Regions from separate parts of the Homo sapiens genome. Here regions 1 and 3 are each linked to region 2. The links are contacts of gene promoters, found by promoter capture Hi-C in blood cells and fetal thymus (Javierre and others, 2016). All regions are on one chromosome and are shown on one strand. The core of a region is centred on a gene start or on the middle of the fragment in contact, and the rest is flanking DNA. Distances in the headings are between cores, read along the strand shown. Region 1 overlaps HDX (highly divergent homeobox). Region 2 holds the start of APOOL (apolipoprotein O like). Region 3 overlaps HDX (highly divergent homeobox).

What was found. Contacts are between HindIII fragments. The CHiCAGO score rates a contact against its expected background, and 5 or more counts as called.
Region 1: a fragment that was not itself captured here is called in contact with the fragment with the promoter of APOOL in region 2 in 1 of 17 cell types (monocytes); the score reaches 6.3 in monocytes.
Region 3: a contact is called between a fragment that was not itself captured here and the fragment with the promoter of APOOL in region 2, in 1 of 17 cell types (monocytes). The highest score is 5.6, in monocytes.

Annotation. Positions count from the first base shown.
Region 1 is chrX:84,472,786-84,475,727 of GRCh38, forward strand. HDX (highly divergent homeobox) reads right to left here. Exons shown (of 11, transcript NM_001177479.2): 3 at 2,466-2,612. The coding sequence starts at 2,612. Among named protein-coding and RNA genes, the nearest start is that of HDX, 28 kb to the right of the region's middle. The HindIII fragment of the contact is 2,301 bases long and covers 130-2,430 here.
Region 2 is chrX:85,002,467-85,005,278 of GRCh38, forward strand. APOOL (apolipoprotein O like) reads left to right here and starts at 1,411. Exons shown (of 9, transcript NM_198450.6): 1 at 1,411-1,461. The coding sequence starts at 1,447. The HindIII fragment of the contact is 4,827 bases long and covers 1-2,812 here.
Region 3 is chrX:84,331,906-84,334,730 of GRCh38, forward strand. It overlaps HDX (highly divergent homeobox), which reads right to left. Exons shown (of 11, transcript NM_001177479.2): 9 at 1,854-1,937. Among named protein-coding and RNA genes, the nearest start is that of MIR548I4, 110 kb to the left of the region's middle. The HindIII fragment of the contact is 601 bases long and covers 965-1,565 here.

The DNA of each region.
Region 1 (2,942 bases), core at 30-2,529, 530 kb before region 2:
AAGTATGTAAGAAATATTTCCATTTAAAATGAAAATAAAGAAAACACATTGCCTGAGGCTTCCCAAAAGCTGAATTAAATTTTACTAAAATTTGTTCAGTTATTATCAATTATTATCAAAATATACCAAAGCTTATAAGATGTAAATGATTCTCATTTACGTTACATCTTATAAGATGGGTCAAATGAAATTGATATGATGAGAATTTGGGGTTAGGAACTAATAAAGTGATATTCATAGGAAAAAAAAGAAAGAAAAGTAATTCGGGTCATTAATCCTTAGTGTCCATAAATTTGTGTTTCAGTTCTTTCTTAGAAATTCACTGTCTCTAAACTTCTTTCCCTTTTTTTATATCTCCTTCTTTGTTTTCTTGTTTTTTTTACACCAGTATATTTATTTTTGCTTGATGTTTTAACTTTTTAAGTTTTCTTTACATTGGGATCAAGTTCTTAATACAGTGGGACTTAAGGATTTTTTAAAAGAAAAATGCAATGAATACTATCTTAGTAAAAATAAAGAAAGAGCTCTTTCAAGTAGAACATATAACTCTAGCAAAGTATCTGGGGAGGGGGGTGGGGTGTAGAGTGATGAGTCTACAAAAAAATTCCTTTTGCCCTTTAACTGGAAAACCCATCAAATATGTGTTGGGATTTAGATAAAGAAGACTGAATTTCTGTACAATTTACATTGGAATGGAGGGAATGAATCCATTTTTTACACTTTCTTGTAACATGTAACATTTTACTGATAATCTACATTCTAAGAAATTATATATTTCATTCCCATTGTTTGTTTTAGATTTTCACACCATTTTGAGCATAAATATAAATCTCTGTATTTCAACACTCTCAATATTCAATCACAATCAAGTAAGTTATGAGAAGTTTGCAATAACACATCGGAAATATGAAAGATTTCACAATATGAAAGATTTTCACAATGCAGCTGCCTGGCAAGCGTTTTCATTTTAAGGTAATGACAAGAAAAAAGAAAAAAAAAAGCAGAGGAAATTACTGCAGGAAAAAAAAAAGTAGCACTTACTAAATGCAATCTCATCAACCCATTTTATATTACATTTTCTAATACAATTAGACATTTTCCTCTGTGGCTTAGTAAAGATATTTAAAATAAGCTGTTTAGAGCTGTTAATAGGAGATATTTCTGGTTCTTAAACAAATCTGAGTATGATGATTGGTCTCAGCAAATAAGAAACAGATATCCTGGGCCGGGCGCGGTGGCTCACGCCTGTGATCCCAACACTTTGGGAGGTCGAGGCGGGCAGATCATCTGAGGTCAGGAGTTCGAGACCAACCTGTCCAACATGGCGAAACCCCGTCTTTACTAAAAATACAAAGAATTAGCCGGGCGTGGTGGCAGGCACCTGTAATTCCAGCTACTCGGGAGGCTGAGGCAGGAGAATCGCTTGAACCTGGGAGAGGGAGGTTGCAGTGAGCTGAGATCCGGCCACTGCACTTCAGCCTGGGCGACAAGAGCGAAACTCCGTTTCAAAAAAAAGAAAAAAATAAAAGAAACAGATATCCTGGATATTTTTGTCTAGAATTGGTGGTACAATTCCCTATTTGAAGGCGAATAAATCTTTTAGTCTTTAAGAAACACATATTCTGAATGATTATTCTTATTAAAATATATTTATCTTTAGGGTCTTTGAAGGTACATCGAAAGCAAACTAAACTTAAGAACAGACATCCTTTCTCTTTCCTAAATTAGCCTAATGAATGCCAAGCAGGAGAAAGTTGCTAATCTTTCAATCACTAAGGTTTCACGCTAAGAGGATTTGTAACATTTTCAAACAGACATAAAAGGTCCTATGCATTCAATAAGATCCGTGACCAGTTCTGTTAGATTTATCTCTTGCCTCCTCTCAATCACCTTCTCGTTACCTTTCAAGAATGTAGCAGCTCTGATTTTTACTACTGAATAACTATGATTGTGATAAAGAAAAATTTATTCTCTTAAGAGTCCTTGTCCCTTACTTGCTAACCCATTAAACTGCATGCATTTTATTTAGAAAGAGAAAGTATTTATAAAGCAGACCAAATGCCTGATGAAAAGTTCAAATACAATGAAAAATATGTCACATATAGTATTCACTTGGTAAATGCCTGTTTTACTGATATTATTTTTGGGGATTACATCTACATTAATTTGGGGTTTAAAGAGCATAAGATCAACAATGAATCTTAAATGTATTTATTAGTTTAAAAAGCTAAGATTTTAAAAAGATGTTTACGCTGCAAGGGTTTCTGTGTGTTCAAGGTATTTATAGAAACAAATACATACTAAATGATTAGCCCTATTTATTTTTAAAATAGTATTGTTATACCAGGGAAGTGAAGCTGTTTATAAAATTAGTGACTTCATACCCTGAATATTTTTTCTCATATTAAGCAAATATCACTTGTAATAAGAAGCTTTAAATTTGAGTGTAAGACCTCAATACTTACCCTGACTACACTGAAGTCCAGCTTAGTCTCCTGTGCACACTGTAATATGAGCTGAAAGCAATTTTTACTTTGATTTGTCATTCCATTTTCATAATAACGCTGTAAAATCCTTTGTTGTTCTACAGTAAATACAGAACGTAGATTCATCTAAAAATAAAAGAAGATACTCTGAAAATTGGAATAAAAATTTGGTATGTGCAGAATTTGTACACCTATTTTTTTAATACAATTTCAATGCTTCCAAGCTGTAAACTTCTGTAAGTGAATTAATCCCCAGTAGTGGGCAATAATTTGTGTGCTAAAGGGAGACAGCTTCTCAATGAAAAATATGCATAGTGCAAACACTTATTGAATTTGTTCAGATAATGTACCAACTTTAAAGAAAAAAAGACAGGAAATAAAAAAGAGGAAAGTCCTTATCTGGTTAGTGTTAATACATGGGAAAAAAGATAATTTCATTGAAATAAATATTTATGG
Region 2 (2,812 bases), core at 161-2,660:
TTACAGGACAGTTCTGTTAAAAAGGATCTGTTTTGGGTATGAAATGTGATAGGTATCAACTAATGCCTAGTATATAGTTTGCACATAATAAATATTTGTTGATTGAATGAATGAATACATGAATTAATATTGGGACTGTTAATGGGCATATTATGAGCATCTTCTTTCCTCAGAATCCTTCAGGGAGGCCTACAGCAGACCTTGCTCCTGTTGTGAATATTGCAATATACCCTTAGTATATTCTCCTGATAGCACCAAAATCATCCTTTAAAAATGTAAATTAGATCACATCACACCTTTGCTCAAAATCCTCCAATGATTTCCCATCTTATTCAGCATAAAATCCAAATTTATTTTGGCGGCACGAAAGCCCCTACACTGTGTTACTTCGCTACCTCTGAAATTATTGCTCCAGCCTCACTGGACTTTTTCATTGCTGTTCCTTCCGTATGCAACCCTCTTCTCTAAATTCCTCCAGGACTTTTATCAAATGAGCTTATCAGAGTCTTTCTCTCATTGATATAAACCAGTAAACTCCCACCTCATTCCCATACTGTTTTATTTTCCTTCATAGCATTTGTCTCTTTTTTAAAATTTATTATTTATTTTTATTTATTTATTTATTTTTTTGAGACGGAGTCTCGCTCTGTCGCCCAGGCTGAAGTGCAGTGGCGCGATCTCCGCTTACTGCAAGCTCCGCCTCCCGGGTTCACGCCAGTCTCCTGCCTCAGCCTCCCGAGTAGCTGGGACTGCAGGCGCCCGCTACTACGCCCGGCTAATTTTTTTTGTACTTTTAGTAGAGACGGAGTTTCACCGTGTTAGCCAGGATGGTCTCGATCTCCTGACCTCGTGATCCGCCCGTCTCGGCCTCCCAAAGTGCCAGGATTACAGGCGTGAGCCACCGCGCCGGCCTCATTTGTCTCTTTTACTCCTGTAATCATAAGCTCTGTGAGGAAGCCACTATGTTTTGTCTATGCCCCGAACAACTGCCCGGCACAGAGTATGCTCTCCGTGACTTAGTTTTAGAATGAATGAACTTACCCATGTTTCGCAGAGGTAATAAGTTGTTTTTCTTACTATATAATTAATTATTAAAGCAGCTACATTTGGGTATTAAGTCCTTATCTGGACATATCACATATGCCCGAAACAAAATAATTAAAAGTTCTGCACCCAGGAAAATAACTCCCAACTGGACTATTGATAATGTTCTGGAAGGCTTTATCTGGGACCGGGAGGGTCAACCACAGGGGTGAACAGTTTCTCCAGAAGACAGCTGACCGAAACCGCAGCAGTTGCCAAGGCGGCTGGAGGAGGGCGGAGAAAAGGCGGTAACTGGCAGGCAAGGGGCGTAACGGGGTGGGGCTGTCCTAAGGGAAGCCTAGTCGAACTGATTTGTCCCTCTCTGCTCTCCGTCTGAAAACCTTGGCCGAAAGGGTTGTAGACATGGCGGCCATCAGGGTAAGCGAAAACCAACTTGCTTAATTTCTGTGGGTGCCGATAGCATCCCGGTAACTGTAAAAGGGATCCTACTAACTTCTGAAGGAGCCCTGAAACAAGGGGCAGGGTGGAGGTGGGTTTTGAGATAATTGCAATCTTTATCGTTTGAAGCCTCAAGACACCTGCCTTTCCCCATTAGGGTTTTATCAGCCTGGGACGCTGCTCCCTCAATCCCCTGTGGTTGTCGATTTACACAGTGGCACAGTACAAAACTGGGAAACGGCTGGGTGAAAATGGCTGGCCAGGCGACGAGCCGCAGTAGACGTTTCGGTCTTCAGCTGCAATAAAGAGAAAAATATATATATAAACTTGGCATTTGTCTCGGCGCACAGGGCAAGGCCACATGACCCTATGGAAGGACTTTGTTGAAACATTTGGGGTGAAACTGACCAGGATAGAGAGGTCCCATAGTCTTTCAGCAGTGCGCTGGTTTACACATAGTGTTGTTGCTTTCTGTGCTCGAATAACCTGTTCCTTTCGAGTTTTACGCTTGGGAAAGGTGCCTTTACTTGGGAGTCCGTGTACAGTGAGTGACTCAGCTGGCAGCTTGCTGCAGTTCCCTAAGTAGTGTTTAATAATGGTAGTCTACAGATATTTACGTAGCGGGTTTTAATTGTAAAATATTCTGTTAGGCTTGCAGGAGATACAGTATGAATAATTCAGTTCCGCTGAAGTTTTAAGTCGGCAGCGTCTACAGTTCTGGTTCTCATACTTCATCTGAGTTATTTGAACAACCTCCTACCTGAACTTGCCACCTCAAGCCTGGCTCTCATGTAATCTGTTTTCCTCTGTGTTGCCAGAGTACATCTACCAAAATGCAAATTTGATTTTTGCCTCCCCCCGCATTTAAAAAATTTTATGGGCATGTCATCATCTCCCCTCTGGGGTCAGGCCATACTCTTATGTCTAGAACATCTGATTTTACCTAGACTTTCCAGCCTCATCTCTTGTCACTCAGGAACCCTCCTCCTGTCGATACTGAGCTGCTTGCTTGACCCCGCCATGCTTTTTTACGTGCTCTTTCTCTGGGCCTAAAGTGCCTTTTCCCATGCTTATCTAGTTGTATTTATAGTTCATTCATTCATTCAGCAGCTATTTGTGTACAGCCTCCCCATATGCAAAACACAAAAATGCCTTGTTTAATAGTGTCCTTGATCTCCCCAGTCTATTTTATTTTATTTTATTTTTTATTTTTGAGACGGAGTCTCTCTCTGTCTCCCAGGCTTGAGTGCAGTGGCGCGATCTCAGCTCACTGCAACCTCCACCTCCCGGGTTCAGGCGATTCTCCTGCCTCAGTCTCCTGAGTAGCTGG
Region 3 (2,825 bases), core at 15-2,514, 670 kb before region 2:
TGTTTTGCACAATGACAAAATTGCCTAACAATGCATTTCTCAGAATTTATCCCCATCATTAAGTGATGCATAATGGTACTTAAGATATCAACAATGTGGTTTTCATCCCCAAACAAGAAACACTAGTATGTGTATATAACTAGGGTACAACATTTTCTCTGAAGACAGATAAATTACTAAACTGGTAGAGCTTTTTAAAACCAACATCCTGAAATCAGTAACAAGAACTGCTATATGAGGTTTTGCTTACCTTTCCCTTAGAAGTAACAAAGTTCATGTGAGGTGAGTTGAAAAATTTTAAAATCATGATTACAAAAAGATATATTTTCTATATAAGTGCTGAATTTTGAGGATTAAAAAAAGAACTTTATGGAACTGCCAAGCCTGAGACACTTACATAAAACATATTTAAAAAATCCCTAATGGGGTAGTGAATGACCCCTTTGTTTCCACAGAATTTATTACAATGGAAAACACTGGATTAATACAATGCTCTTGAGAGTTCGGTGAAAATATTAACAAACATTTCTGGACTAGACACTCTGCCCTGCCCTCCTCTGGTTTTTAGCGCCAAACCTTTTCAAGGAGACTGCCACCCAAGAGGGGAGAGGTCTTGGAAAGAATCCTCTGAGTCCTGGGCCCAACCCTCTTTGACATATTTGAGAGTGCTAAGAGGAGCACTCTTAACAGCTGTGCAATCTAGTCCTTTCGTCTGTAGTTTCCACAACCTGTGCCAAGCTGTGGCATGCAGAGACATTGAAATCCTGAACTGGGCATTTAGAAATATTATATGACCATGTAGGAGAGATTATCGTAATCTCTTGTATTTCAGAACCAACAAACTTATAATTCTGTTAGTTGAAAATACAGTCAAAATATAGGATTTCATCATGTTCTTTGACCATCTAGGAAATACGTTTCAAAAGATATTTTCCTTCTGTGTTTACAATATTCAATATTTTAAAGCTTGACATGTTATGAATATTTGGAAAACAGAATCTGTTGGATGGCATACATTTCAATTATGGTAAAACTGAAAAGATTTTTGAGGAAATGACAGCTGTTATATTTTCTGATTAAATGTTATTTTCTGTTAACATTTTAACATTACTAATCTCTGCTTTGAACACTAATGACATTCCATAACAAGAACTTTTGTGTATGAAAAGGACTGTGTGGCCAAAATTTCAGAAGTTCCCAAAGTTACCTAGTAAGATAGGATAATGATTATCAAAGGGACAGCTTTTATAAATCTATGCAGAAAACATATTGACATACAGACTGATATCTTATATACATATTTAATAAAATAATATGTATAGCACCCTGTCAAAGGCAGCTTTTCAATTTAGTAATAAATGACATTAAGAAAAGGTCATCTGTATTCATATTCATTCTGTATTTGCTTTGGAAATTGTTTGCAAACTTCTCCTATAACAGCTGTATTATCATATTTTTAAAAATTGTCCACAGAAGAAGTAAAAATTTAGGATAAAATTAGCAAAGTCCACTGGAAAAAGAAATCCCTTTTACTATCATTTAAAAATGAACATTGGCTTTATAAAAGCTTTGTCATACATTTCATGTTGGCCATGACCAAGTACTGCCTCCATCCTGCCATATACCATCAATACTTACTCCACTCAGCAAACTCTTTGCCTAAGATCATAACCCCTAAACCCGACAGCAATAATTAAAATAACCAGCACTCTGACTGATATTCAAGTAGCCAGAAAGAATTAATGCAGAGCCTTAGAATGCTTAACTTATTAAATAGGAGTAATATAGGTATTGTAAAATTCTGCCTCATTTAATACCTTCTCTTAATAAATTCATAATTTAAAATTACCTACCTTATAATCCAAGAAAGAGTTTACTTGTTCTACTTCAGAATTACTTATCATGTCACTTTCTTCATCATCAATAATTTCTATTTTCTGTAACACAAGTAGAGAAGTTACAAATATATATCACATCATTCTTACTACACTCAGCAATGCATAGAAAATATGCATTCAATGTTTAGGTTATCTAGTCTAGGTTATCTGGAATAAATTCTGATAACTGACTGGCTCCTCAGTGTTACATATAGTGTGTGTCTGAGCCACCTCCCTCTACCTTTAACTGATGACTGCTTGTTAAATAAAAAAATTAATACTATTTAAAATAGAAAATGTCTTTCTACAATATCCCTAACAAAGCAGGCGAACTGCTTAAACAGCACCCTCCAGGGACAGGAAATTTACTTCCTGTAATGGTGGTCTATTTTAATGCGAGTAAACATACAATTGATAGGAATAGCTTTCTTTTTTAAGTTTCCACATGCCTCTTTGTGACTTCTAATGTAAAATGTCAGCATATGACATATTCCAAAATCAAACACAATTTTTAAAAATTCCAATATTTACTGCACACTGCACAACTTTAGCTTGACAACTAATTAAAAGCAGGCATCTATGATGTAATGATAAAAATAGCATGATGATTTGTTTCCTTCACTGAAGAGTAACAGCCAGGATGAGGAGGTGGAGAGAGAGGAAAAGGGAGAAAGAGAAAGGAGAGAGACAGATTAAATTATCTTTAGCTTTTAAAAAAAGGCATAGCATAGCTTGTACAATATCTTGTCCACAGTAGGTACTAACACTAATTAAATATCTGTAGAAAGAATGAACAAAACAGTTCAGCGTTGATGAAAAAAAAATGACCAATTAGCTCCAACCATGAGGGGGCAAGTTCTCTAATCATGTGATTTTTTTAAAAAAAAAGCAAAAAAAAAAAAAAAGGTATAAGTAAAATCAGCTCTAATTTTTCTTTCACATGTAAAA